Linked DNA regions of Homo sapiens: regions 1 and 2 are each linked to region 3. The links are contacts of gene promoters, found by promoter capture Hi-C in blood cells and fetal thymus (Javierre and others, 2016). All regions are on one chromosome and are shown on one strand. The core of a region is centred on a gene start or on the middle of the fragment in contact, and the rest is flanking DNA. Distances in the headings are between cores, read along the strand shown.

What was found. The method cuts DNA at HindIII sites, captures the fragments that hold promoters and counts their contacts. A CHiCAGO score of 5 or more calls a contact.
Region 1: a fragment that was not itself captured here is called in contact with the fragment with the promoter of TTC36 in region 3 in 6 of 17 cell types (total CD8 T cells, neutrophils, naive CD8 T cells and 3 more); the score reaches 8.3 in total CD8 T cells.
Region 2: a contact is called between the fragment with the promoter of JAML here and the fragment with the promoter of TTC36 in region 3, in 10 of 17 cell types (naive CD8 T cells, non-activated CD4 T cells, total CD4 T cells and 7 more). The highest score is 8.8, in naive CD8 T cells.

The regions. Positions count from the first base shown.
Region 1 is chr11:118,137,358-118,140,859 of GRCh38, forward strand. All of the region lies in intron 4 of SCN4B (sodium voltage-gated channel beta subunit 4), which reads right to left. Among named protein-coding and RNA genes, the nearest start is that of SCN4B, 14 kb to the right of the region's middle. The HindIII fragment of the contact is 851 bases long and covers 1,429-2,279 here.
Region 2 is chr11:118,222,118-118,226,463 of GRCh38, forward strand. It overlaps JAML (junction adhesion molecule like), which reads right to left and starts at 2,894. Exons shown (of 10, transcript NM_001098526.2): 1 at 2,824-2,894. The HindIII fragment of the contact is 17,664 bases long and covers 1-4,346 here.
Region 3 is chr11:118,524,764-118,528,723 of GRCh38, forward strand. TTC36 (tetratricopeptide repeat domain 36) reads left to right here and starts at 2,711. Exons shown (of 3, transcript NM_001080441.4): 1 at 2,711-2,849; 2 at 3,840-3,960. The coding sequence starts at 2,732. It overlaps KMT2A (lysine methyltransferase 2A), which reads left to right. Exons shown (of 36, transcript NM_001197104.2): 36 at 1-2,069. All of the region lies in intron 1 of TTC36-AS1 (TTC36 and KMT2A antisense RNA 1), which reads right to left. The HindIII fragment of the contact is 1,033 bases long and covers 2,078-3,110 here.

The sequences.
Region 1 (3,502 bases), core at 604-3,103, 390 kb before region 3:
ACAGTGCCTGCCATGTAGAAAGTTCTCAACTGGCCAGGTGCGGTGGCTCACACCTGTAATCCCAGCACTTTGGGAGGCCGAGGCAGGCAGATCACTTGAGGTCAGGAGTTCGAGACCAGCCTGGCCAACATGGCAAAACCCCATCTCTACTAAAAATACAAAAATTAGCCAGGCGTGGTGGCAGGCGCCTATAGTCCCAGCTACTAGGGAGGCTGAGGCAGGAGAATCGCTTGAACCTGGGAGGCGGAGGTTGCAGTGAGCTGAGATCGTGCCACTGCACTCCAGCCTGGGCAACAGAGCGAGACTCTGTCTCAAACAAAGAAAAAAAGAAAGTTCTCAATAAAGCTTAGCTGTCACCTAGTTGTCTCAACATGGCAGGAAGCAAAGGGCACCAGGTGCTGTTCTCAGGGGTCAGTTCCCAGGCTGTGCCACGCCAGGGGGAGGGGTCCAGGCCAGCAAGGAGTATGCTGAGGACACAGAGTCCCTCTCCCCAGGGCCCCCCAGGCCTTCCTCCCTGAGCTCTCCGTGACTAGAGGTATTAAGGGAAGAACAGAGTCCATGGAAGGGGCAGAGCAGGCAGTGGGTTTGGCTTCAAGGGTGACAGGTCTAGGCAGAGTTTGGTGGGACGGAGCAGAAGACAGGAGGAAGGAGAGATGGTGAGATGGGAAGACACCTCCCGGGAGGCGTTCCACCCTGACCGCTCTGAGCTGGACATGCTCCAACTTCAGTGTGTCCCTCCTCCACAGCAGCGCCCAGGCTGGGCACACAGAACTCCCCAGGGAGCACCTGCATCCCTCTGAGCTTTCTGCTCATGAAAATGGCCAAGTTTTTCACAGCTGCTACAGCCAAACTACATCCTACCCTCACCCTGGGCTTGGGCAGCTGGGTTTGAGGCCTTTGGGAAGGACTGAATATTTTGTCCTCATTAATTTCATCTTGCAATACCTAGTTCCTAGCTCCAGCCTATCAAGATCTTCCTAGATCCCTTTTTCTTCCAACATAGTTACTAGGCTTCTGGAAGTTGATAAATGTGACATCCCTAGTGTACTTCAAATGTTAGTAATAACAATGAACAGGTGGAGCCCTGTGGAATACACTAAAGACCTCTATTCGGATGGATCCATCTCTCTCTCTCTGTCTCTCTCTCTTTCTTTCTTTCTGTCTCTGTACCTAAGGCATAGTTAACCCAGCCAATTACGACCCACCGAACTGTATTCCACGCAGTCCATAATTCTCTACTGAGAACCTACTGGGTACCAGGCACTGTGTCGGAAACGTGCACTCTCCTAGGGCATGTGACATTAAACAAGTGATTGTGACACACTGTGGTAAATAACAGGATGGGGGATGTAGGAAGGAGGGACCCAACCTAGGAAGCCTCCTCATAGGAGTCAGGGAAGCTTTTTGGAAGTATACCTTAAACTTCCAAGCTTCTTTGAAACCAAGAAAGATGAGCAGGAAAAGAGAGAGGGTAAATTCCAGACAGAGGAAACAGCACCCACGTTTCAGAATCAATGGTGAGATGTTGTCCAGTACCTCCCTGTTCTTGAGAAGCCACTGTCTCTGCTGTAATGCAGGCATTCCCCGCCACTCCAAGGACCTCCCTCAGGCTTCCCTACGGTCTGTCCCCTGCCCCCAGGCTCTTCCACCCAATCCCTCCGCCCACCATGGCCAGATCCTTTCTTCTGTGCTCTCTGATCGTGCCAGGGCCCTGCAAGCCCTCGCCAGCTCCCCTGCCGTCGGAAGTCAATCACAGCCTCGACTCCCAGGTCCCCAAGTGTCTGTCCCCAACCCCTTCTGCAGGCTTTTATTCTCCTCCCCACCACCTCACCATACAGCTCTCTCAACAAACAAAAGGCTTGTTCTCCAGACAAGCCCACTTCCCAGACTCTCTGCCTTGGCTCTCAGTGGTGCCTCCATCTGGAAGAATCTTCCCTTTACTCTCCCCAGGGCTTAAGTTATATTAATCTTGCAAGGCCTGCCACAAACACCCATTCAGCCAGAAATCCTTCCCAGAATTTCACCCTGCCCTGAACCCCCACAGCAGCATCGTATCAAACCTCTTTGCTGGCACTGATCCCCTCTACCTTGTATTACATTTATTTGTATACACATTTATTTGTATCTTGTCTTCTTTAGTTAAAGGCAGAATCTCATTCCTTCCATAATTTCCTATAGCATCTGGCACAGTGCCTCAAAAACAGCCACAAAATGAACAGATAAATGAATGAACTCTAGATATGCCCAGTGAGTCAGTAGAACATCCTGGCAATGGTTTAAGCTTTGAAGCCAAATTAGTCACAGTTCAAATCCCAGCTCTATCACTTACTAGCTGTGTGGCCTTGGGCAAGTCACTTCACTACTCTGAGCCTCACTTTGCTCAATTGTAAAATAATAATTATGGGTAGTGTATAAAATTGCCTGGTGGAATTCCTAACATATGGTAGGCATTTGATGAATGACAGGAAGTGGTATTTTCCAGAGCAATCTCCTGTTCTGCCAGTGCCTTATCAGGAGACATCTAGCATTCCTTTTTTTTTTTTCTTTTTTCTTTTTTTTTTTAAGAGACGAGCTCTTGCTAAGTTGCCCAGGCTGGACTCAAACTCCTGGGCTCAAAGCATCCTCCTGCCTCAGCCCCCCAGGGAGCTGGGACTTCAGGCACACACATCCAGCTTAGCATGTCTTGTTTTTGATGAACCCACTGTGGCTCTGAAGGACCACCGTTGTCTTTTCTAAGTGCTTTTAAACCATATATTGACAAATTTGTTCTCCATCCATTGATAGTAAGACTGGTTATGAAAAACAGAACCTAATTAAGCTCCACGCTTTTAGCCCCTCTCACGATCACCAAAACCCTCACAGCCTCTGGCCACAAGGCAGGCAGACAACCCTTGAGCTCTTCATCGACAACCCAGTTCTGGGGTCCTCCCCTGCTCCCCAGCCCCAGCGCTGCTACCTGTATGGCCCCTCCCTACCTCCAACTTCCATCCCCTCTTTCTAGAGTAAGTTCTGCCCTTTACAGCAGAATTCCCTCTTCTCAGCAGAGCAGAATGTTTCAGCAAATAGGGGCAGAGGAGTTCTCCATTCTCTGCATCTCGTGGTTACCATCACCCTCTCTGTTCCAATGGGAAGCCATCTCGTCGCATCTGTCTTGCTCAGAACACAACTTTCAAATGCCTTTTCCCTGCTCTAGTTTTGCAAGATTCACCACATGCTGCTCTGGAGCCTGTCTGATACTGTTCCAAAAATTTGGGGCCTGAGGGTTGCACCCTCCGTACCTCCCCCATCTTCCCTCCCCTTCCCCTTATAGATGTCTATTTTTATACCTGAACTTATCCTAGGGCTCCCTGGGAGGCCATATCTGCCTTTTCAAACTTTTAAAACATCACCTCCATCTGAATTTTCAGAAATTCCTAACAGAAGAATTTTGTTCCCATCTCCCTAGAAGAGTTTTCTCATTTTAGAGTCTCTGTACATGGAATCTTACATTTTCACTGATTTT
Region 2 (4,346 bases), core at 1,644-4,143, 300 kb before region 3:
TTTAAAAGCCCCTGCTGGCCAGGCACAGTGGCTTATGCCTATAATCCTAGCACTTTGAGAGGCCAAGGTGGACAGATCGCTTGAGCCCAGGAGTTTGAGACCAGCCTGAGCAACTTGGTGAAACACCATCTGAACAAAAAAAAAATACAAAAATTAGCTGGATGTAGTGGCAGGCACCTGTAGTCCTAGCTACTCAGGAGGCTGAAGTGGGAGGATCACTTGAGCCCAGGAGGCTGAGGCTGCAGCGAGTTGTGATCGCACCACTGCATTCCAACCTGGCGACAGAGCGAGACTCCATCTAAACAAACAAAAAGCCCCTGCTTTCCCTCTAAGAACTTCTCAGTCAATGGAATTTTGTCTTGATTTTCCATTTCTGTCTGTCTGTGTATTTATATGTGTTGTATGTATAGTATTTATATAAAAGAGCTCTAATTAATTGGCTTAAAGAAACTAAAATCAAACATTTTATCAGAAAAAATTGAAACTTTAATCTCTTTTAGGTCACGTGACTCTAATGATTTTTAAACATAAAGACAGTGTAAATAACATAAAAAATAAAGACAGTGTAAGTAAAGAATGTGTTTTGGTGGGAGGTTATAAGAAGGCGTGTGAATATGGTTTCTGTTAAAGAGAACGTAATTTTGTCTAGCTCAGAGGGTTTTAACTATTGGCCTCACCTAAAAGAGTAATGGGACAGCTGGGCATGGTGGCTCACGCCTGTCATCCCAGAACTTTGGGAGGCTGAGGTGGGGAGATCACTTGAGGTTAGGAGTTCCAGACCAGCCTGGCCAACATGGCAAAACCCCGTCTCTACTAAAAATACAAAAATTAATCAGGTGTGGTGGTGAGCGCCTGTAATCCCAGCTACTTGGGAGGCTGAGGCAGGAGAATCACTTGAACTCGGGAGGCGGAGGTTGCAGAGAGTCGAGATTGTGCCACTGCATGCCAGCCTAGGTGACAGAGTGAGACTCTGTCTCAAAAAAAAAAAAAAAAAAAAAGAGTAATGTGACAAAACTGATGGTTTAAGCAAGTTGAAAAGGGTTTGTGAAGGGTTAATCTCATGAAAAGTTCTGTGGGTATAAGCAGGTTGGCTAAGATTTAAAGGGGATTACTTAGTTTTTCCATAGGTCGAACACTGAAATAAAAGCACACTGATGTAGGGCCAGAATCCGGGCCCATGTGTCTGAATAATGGTTTTCTAGAGAATTTATTTGTTTAACAGAAAATTGTAAAGAATTATGAGAGGTTTGTGGACGTTTTACCTTATGGTCAAACTATGATTGTATAGATTTGTTTATAAGGTTTTATTAAGAATTGGATCTAACATTAATAATATACTAATGCAAAGGTGAAATTTTGCTTTCTCTCATAAACAAGATTTTTGCATAATATTTTAAAATAATGAGATTTTTGTTTACCTTTTAATAAACAACAGAAAAAGGAGGAGAGAGGAAATAGATTCGGTTGGCATCATGCTGTCTTTATTGCGACCTGCTTGGAAAGTTGACTCTCCCCTCTATCAGCAAGTAAAGATTTTTGCCTTTTAGAAATTTTGGAGTTATCATTTTGGCTACCTAAATGACTTGTAGTGACTCTATACTAATCTTCTCTGAGCAACTCTCCTCCATATCCTGTTGGGTAATGAGAACAAGTGGCACCCCCTCCCTCCAAAAAATCCATACCCCTTTATATTACAGAAAAGAAATCTTCAGAAAAGAGACATGCTACAATGAGACTACCATACAAGATGTGAAAGTTACCCCCCAAATTACAATATCATGAGACAAAATAAGGGAGAGCTGCTGTCTCTCAGTGTTTGTCCCTAGTAAGGACAACTAACCACTGAGCAAACGGACAACTGCACAGCCTTCTTTTACTCACAGAGTGTTGTCCACCTGCAGAGCCAAGTCCTCTCAATCTATCTGCACACTGCTGTGCACTTCTAGGCTCTCAGATGTTTTTAGGTCTACAAGTCCATATAACCACTCTAAGCCATGCGTCTTAAAATATGCCCTCATTTTCCATTGTTAAGCCATTGAATACAGACTGGTAGGTCACGTGGCTTCTGTAACACAGTCTAGGTCACATCGGTTAATGCTCTACGCGAATGGGACCCTGGAGGTCCTTACTCCTGCTCTCTTCTCCAGAGTAGGTTATACCTAAACCATCCTGCATCAGCCTTTCCCAAGGTCAGGGCTGTGCTGAGGGTGTAACAAGCATGGACAGTAGCCTAGCTTTCTTGGGAGATTTAAGTCTCGGGCTTCTAAAGGTTAAATATTGGTTTGTCTATAATGGGGAGAAGAAAAACAGTGGTATAACTATGTAAAATGATGGATATATTAATCTGCTTCACCATAGTAAACTTTTTACTATCTACATGCATCCCACAACATCATGTTGTATACCTTAAATACACACAATAAAATTTGTTTAAAAATAAAATTAAAAACTGTCTTCTAAAAAGAAAAACAGTGAAGAAAGAGCTCTGCTGTGAGCTCAAGAACAGCCAGTCACAGCTCCACCTAAACCCACGGGTGACTTAAAAGCTGAAGCCTTGTCATAATCATTGTCACGTACTCTTATTATGATGAAACTTTGCTCCTCTTTTTGCTGAGGAGATTCACCTAAGTTACTCTACACGACAGTAACTGAAACAGCACCCATTAGACTACTTTATGACATCCCCCTGCAGAGATCAAGAGTTCTGCAATCGCAGCTTCACAATCCTGAGAGACTACCAATTCAACCAGCCTTCAGGACTGGCACACTTCTGTGTGAGAAAAGTTCAAAAAATGGCTTAAGAAATTCAAAGCAACTGCTTACCCAAGATGAAGAGCACCCAGGGGAGGCAATGCACTGAAATCTCCCCACAGCTGCAGTCCCCAAGCTCAACTGAAAGACTGCTGCGAGCACTCTAGGTTAGGCTCAGAGCAAACCAAACACGTGCCTTCTGAAGTGGTTGCAGAGATGCAAACAGGAACCTCTAAATCAAGGTTCTCATTTCAGTCATCTGGCCCATTACCCAATTGTTATGTATACTTTCATTCTAAAAAGAGGTGACAAATTCAACCTACTGAGGTGAACCTCACACTCAGACCTCTTCAGGTGCCATCTCCCCTTTTAGATGACAAGCCCTCTGAGGGTAGGAGCTTGAATGGCACCAGGCAAATAGGTGCTGAGAAAGAAATCCATTTCATGCAAACAAAATACAATAAACGTAATATTAACACAAAACCTTCTGTGTTAAAGATACAGCAACCTCTTTTATTTTTCCTCTCAAAACAGAGGTGCAACCTCGCCAGGCAATCACCCAATCCCTGCTTCCAAAGATACGCCTGCCCAGTCCTCCAACTCACCATGTAGACATGAAAGTTTCCTCTGGCCATGTGATATCAGCATTTCCAGAATACAGGCAGCCATTGATTCCCATAGAGAACCTCTTGGGTGACTTGGACATCCTAGATTAGAACTCAAGGTTTCTTCACTTCAAGATACCTCTCAGTCTTAGTCACCACTTCAAAATAGGTGTTCTCAATGTACGCACCTTCAACCTCGGCTAGATTGGCTTGACCTAGGCATGGGCAGACTCATGGAACTTGTCCTGTATCATCTGAAAAGCTGTTGAACGTTTGCTCCCAAGCACTACGCTGCATGGTCCTTGAGAAGTGATGTGCTAGAGAGCCAGCAATCTCCACAGCATAAATATTCCCATCATAACCTATTTCAAGCTACCAACAGTTTAACAACTGGCTTGCAAAATTCCTAAAAAACTTAATACAGGTTGAGTATCCCTTATCCAATATGCTTGGGACCAGAAATGTTTCAGATTTCATATTTTTTTCAGATTTTAGAATATTTGCCGAATACATACAAGTTGAACGTCCCTAGTCTGAAAATCCAAAATGCTCCAATAAGCATTTCTTTGGAGCATCATGTTGGCACTCAAAGTTACAGATTTTGGAGTTGAAATAGCAACCACTCTTTTGTATTTTCAGATTAGGGGTACTCAGCCTGTAATCAGCTCTTGCTATGTAAGCTGGTTCCAGCACACCACGGAACCTCTGCAGGTTCTTGCGGGGGTACAGCTCCGACATGACTGGTTGCACGATGCTGAAAACCACTGTTAAATCAAGTTTAGCCTAAAGCTGCCTCCTTACATATTTTAAGTTTGGCCTAAAGGTTTCTCTGTACATCATGAACTATAACGTAAATGGAATAGTATACGGACTCTAGTCTACTCTTGTGCCAGTCACTGAGTTTGGCCAATCGAAGATGGCCAATGATTCAAACTATTCAAATAAGGCAAACACCGAGCTGTAACCAATCCGGCTATTTCTGTACCTCAC
Region 3 (3,960 bases), core at 1,461-3,960:
GGGTCCTGAATTCACCTTGAGAAAGACCCAAAGGCCAGTCAGGGGGTGGGGGGAACTCAGCTAAATAGACCTAGTTACTGCCCTGCTAGGCCATGCTGTACTGTGAGCCCCTCCTCACTCTCTACCAACCCTAAACCCTGAGGACAGGGGAGGAACCCACAGCTTCCTTCTCCTGCCAGCTGCAGATGGTTTGCCTTGCCTTTCCACCCCCTAATTGTCAACCACAAAAATGAGAAATTCCTCTTCTAGCTCAGCCTTGAGTCCATTGCCAAATTTTCAGCACACCTGCCAGCAACTTGGGGGAATAAGCGAAGGTTTCCCTACAAGAGGGAAAGAAGGCAAAAACGGCACAGCTATCTCCAAACACATCTGAGTTCATTTCAAAAGTGACCAAGGGAATCTCCGCACAAAAGTGCAGATTGAGGAATTGTGATGGGTCATTCCCAAGAATCCCCCAAGGGGCATCCCAAATCCCTGAGGAGTAACAGCTGCAAACCTGGTCAGTTCTCAGTGAGAGCCAGCTCACTTATAGCTTTGCTGCTAGAACCTGTTGTGGCTGCATTTCCTGGTGGCCAGTGACAACTGTGTAACCAGAATAGCTGCATGGCGCTGACCCTTTGGCCGGAACTTGGTCTCTTGGCTCCCTCCTTGGCCACCCACCACCTCTCGCACAGCCCCTCTGTTTTTACACCAATAACAAGAATTAAGGGGGAAGCCCTGGCAGCTATACGTTTTCAACCAGACTCCTTTGCCGGGACCCAGCCCGCCACCCTGCTCGCCTCCGTCAAACCCCCGGCCAATGCAGTGAGCACCATGTAGCTCCCTTGATTTAAAAAAAATAAAAAATAAAAAAAAAAGGAAAAAAAAATACAACACACACACAAAAATAAAAAAAATATTCTAATGAATGTATCTTTCTAAAGGACTGACGTTCAATCAAATATCTGAAAATACTAAAGGTCAAAACCTTGTCAGATGTTAACTTCTAAGTTCGGTTTGGGATTTTTTTTTTTTAATAGAAATCAAGTTGTTTTTGTTTTTAAGGAAAAGCGGGTCATTGCAAAGGGCTGGGTGTAATTTTATGTTTCATTTCCTTCATTTTAAAGCAATACAAGGTTATGGAGCAGATGGTTTTGTGCCGAATCATGAATACTAGTCAAGTCACACACTCTGGAAACTTGCAACTTTTTGTTTGTTTTGGTTTTCAAATAAATATAAATATGATATATATAGGAACTAATATAGTAATGCACCATGTAACAAAGCCTAGTTCAGTCCATGGCTTTTAATTCTCTTAACACTATAGATAAGGATTGTGTTACAGTTGCTAGTAGCGGCAGGAAGATGTCAGGCTCACTTTCCTCTGATTCCCGAAATGGGGGGAACCTCTAACCATAAAGGAATGGTAGAACAGTCCATTCCTCGGATCAGAGAAAAATGCAGACATGGTGTCACCTGGATTTTTTTCTGCCCATGAATGTTGCCAGTCAGTACCTGTCCTCCTTGTTTCTCTATTTTTGGTTATGAATGTTGGGGTTACCACCTGCATTTAGGGGAAAATTGTGTTCTGTGCTTTCCTGGTATCTTGTTCCGAGGTACTCTAGTTCTGTCTTTCAACCAAGAAAATAGAATTGTGGTGTTTCTTTTATTGAACTTTTAACAGTCTCTTTAGTAAATACAGGTAGTTGAATAATTGTTTCAAGAGCTCAACAGATGACAAGCTTCTTTTCTAGAAATAAGACATTTTTTGACAACTTTATCATGTATAACAGATCTGTTTTTTTTCCTTGTGTTCTTCCAAGCTTCTGGTTAGAGAAAAAGAGAAAAAAAAAAAAGGAAAATGTGTCTAAAGTCCATCAGTGTTAACTCCCTGTGACAGGGATGAAGGAAAATACTTTAATAGTTCAAAAAATAATAATGCTGAAAGCTCTCTACGAAAGACTGAATGTAAAAGTAAAAAGTGTACATAGTTGTAAAAAAAAGGAGTTTTTAAACATGTTTATTTTCTATGCACTTTTTTTTATTTAAGTGATAGTTTAATTAATAAACATGTCAAGTTTATTGCTGCACATGGTTAAGCTTCCTTTTGGCTTTGGTTGGAGAGGGTGGAGAAAAGCGGGAGGGGCATGGCCTGTGACCTGGTCACAAAGTACCTTCCACAGTCCTTTACTTTAAGGTGGCATCACTAAATTATTCCCTGTAGCCCACCTTCAGGTCCACTCCACACTGGCTCTCTTGACTATTTTCTTCCTTTATTCATCAGTGATGTATGTTCAGGACCTAATTAATTGTGGATATGAGGCAGGGTCAAGAGGACAAAGGAACAGGGCCTTTACCTTCTACATAGCTCCCCTGTTTCATCCAAGGAGGTTAAGTATTGATTTTTATCGGTTTTCTCAACTGTGAATATAATAAACTGAAAGCATTTCAGGGAGAAGCTGGAGAACACCTTCTCTAGCTGCACTCCACCTTAAGGCTGAAGCTGGATTTGTTTACTGTTTCTCCTGGGGGCAGGGGCAGTTGAGAAATAACCAAGTAGTCTGCCAAGCCAGGGTCAACCCTCCAGGCCACAGGTTGAGCAAATGCTACAGCCATGGACAGGGAGACACTCCTCACGAAGGGGTGGTCCTCATCCTTTCAGATCAACTTCCTGCTGGAGGCTCCACCCTCACCACGTCCCTCCCTCTTCTCTCATCTGGAGTCACCTTTTGGGATTTTGGAGTTGAGCACCATGGGGACTCCAAATGATCAGGCAGTGCTGCAGGCCATCTTCAACCCTGACACCCCATTTGGAGACATTGTTGGATTGGACCTCGGAGAGGAAGCAGAAAAGGAAGAACGAGAAGAAGGTGGGCATTTGATCTGGAGTGTAGCTCTGCACATAGGCTGGCCTGCTGGCCTCCCGAGGTAGCAGAGAGGGAGGTGGTTTTATAAGGCCCCTTGTTCCATGATTATGATTGAGATTGGAATCAGAGAGGTTGGCTGCTCCTTAGCGCACTGATGGGGGTTTGGTAAGAGATGTCCTGCCAAGAGGAGTAAGCTGGGGTTTGTCTCTCGATCCATCAGCTCTCATGCCTCTGAACTTACCACTTAATTGACTGTATGATCCAAGCTTAACTGCCAGGTGATGTTAAACTCTCACATTTTTGTCATAACAGAGAATACCACCACCAGAACAGAAGACTGAAATAAGGCAGGGCATGGTTGCTCAGTTGAGTGGTTCCAATATAGCAAGCACAACCAGTAACCGTTAAACACTGTCACAAGCCAAGCTCCAAACTAACTCTTCCGCAGTGAGTGCGTTCACTGGCTTTTCCATTAATCCCTAATGAAGGAGTTTTTGATCCTTTGTTTCTAGAGGAGTAAAGCCTACACCTTACTAACTCAGGCCGAAACACAGAGGGATACGTCAGAAGTGATGTTCATGATCTGGGAATGTCATGGTGGCCTTTGCATAAGAGGCGGTGTAGTAGAGTAAAATGCAGACAGGAGCCAGAATGACCTGGGTTCAAATCCAAGCTCTGCAACGTATGGCCTGTTGAGGCCATACACAAAGAACTTGAGCAACTTCTTTAACAGATTGAGGAGTCTGGGCTTCATTCTCTTGGCAATGGGGAACCAACCAAGGCCCCTTCCCAGGTCTCTTGGAACTCAGGCAATGCTAGCTCCCAGCCTTAGTGACCTCATCTCCCCCTACCCCAAACACTGCAACTGACCCCTGCTGTGACCCATACCCAGTCAGCTCTGGCTCAGATCTCAGAATTCCAAAGCCTGAGGTGGCTTTTTCTTCTTGCTACCAACTGCACACCTGGCTTCTCCTGGCTCCTTCCCTGGCCCAGATGAAGTTTTCCCTCAAGCACAGCTGGAACAGTCCAAGGCCCTGGAGCTGCAGGGGGTGATGGCAGCAGAGGCTGGGGACCTCAGCACAGCCCTGGAGAGGTTTGGCCAAGCCATCTGCCT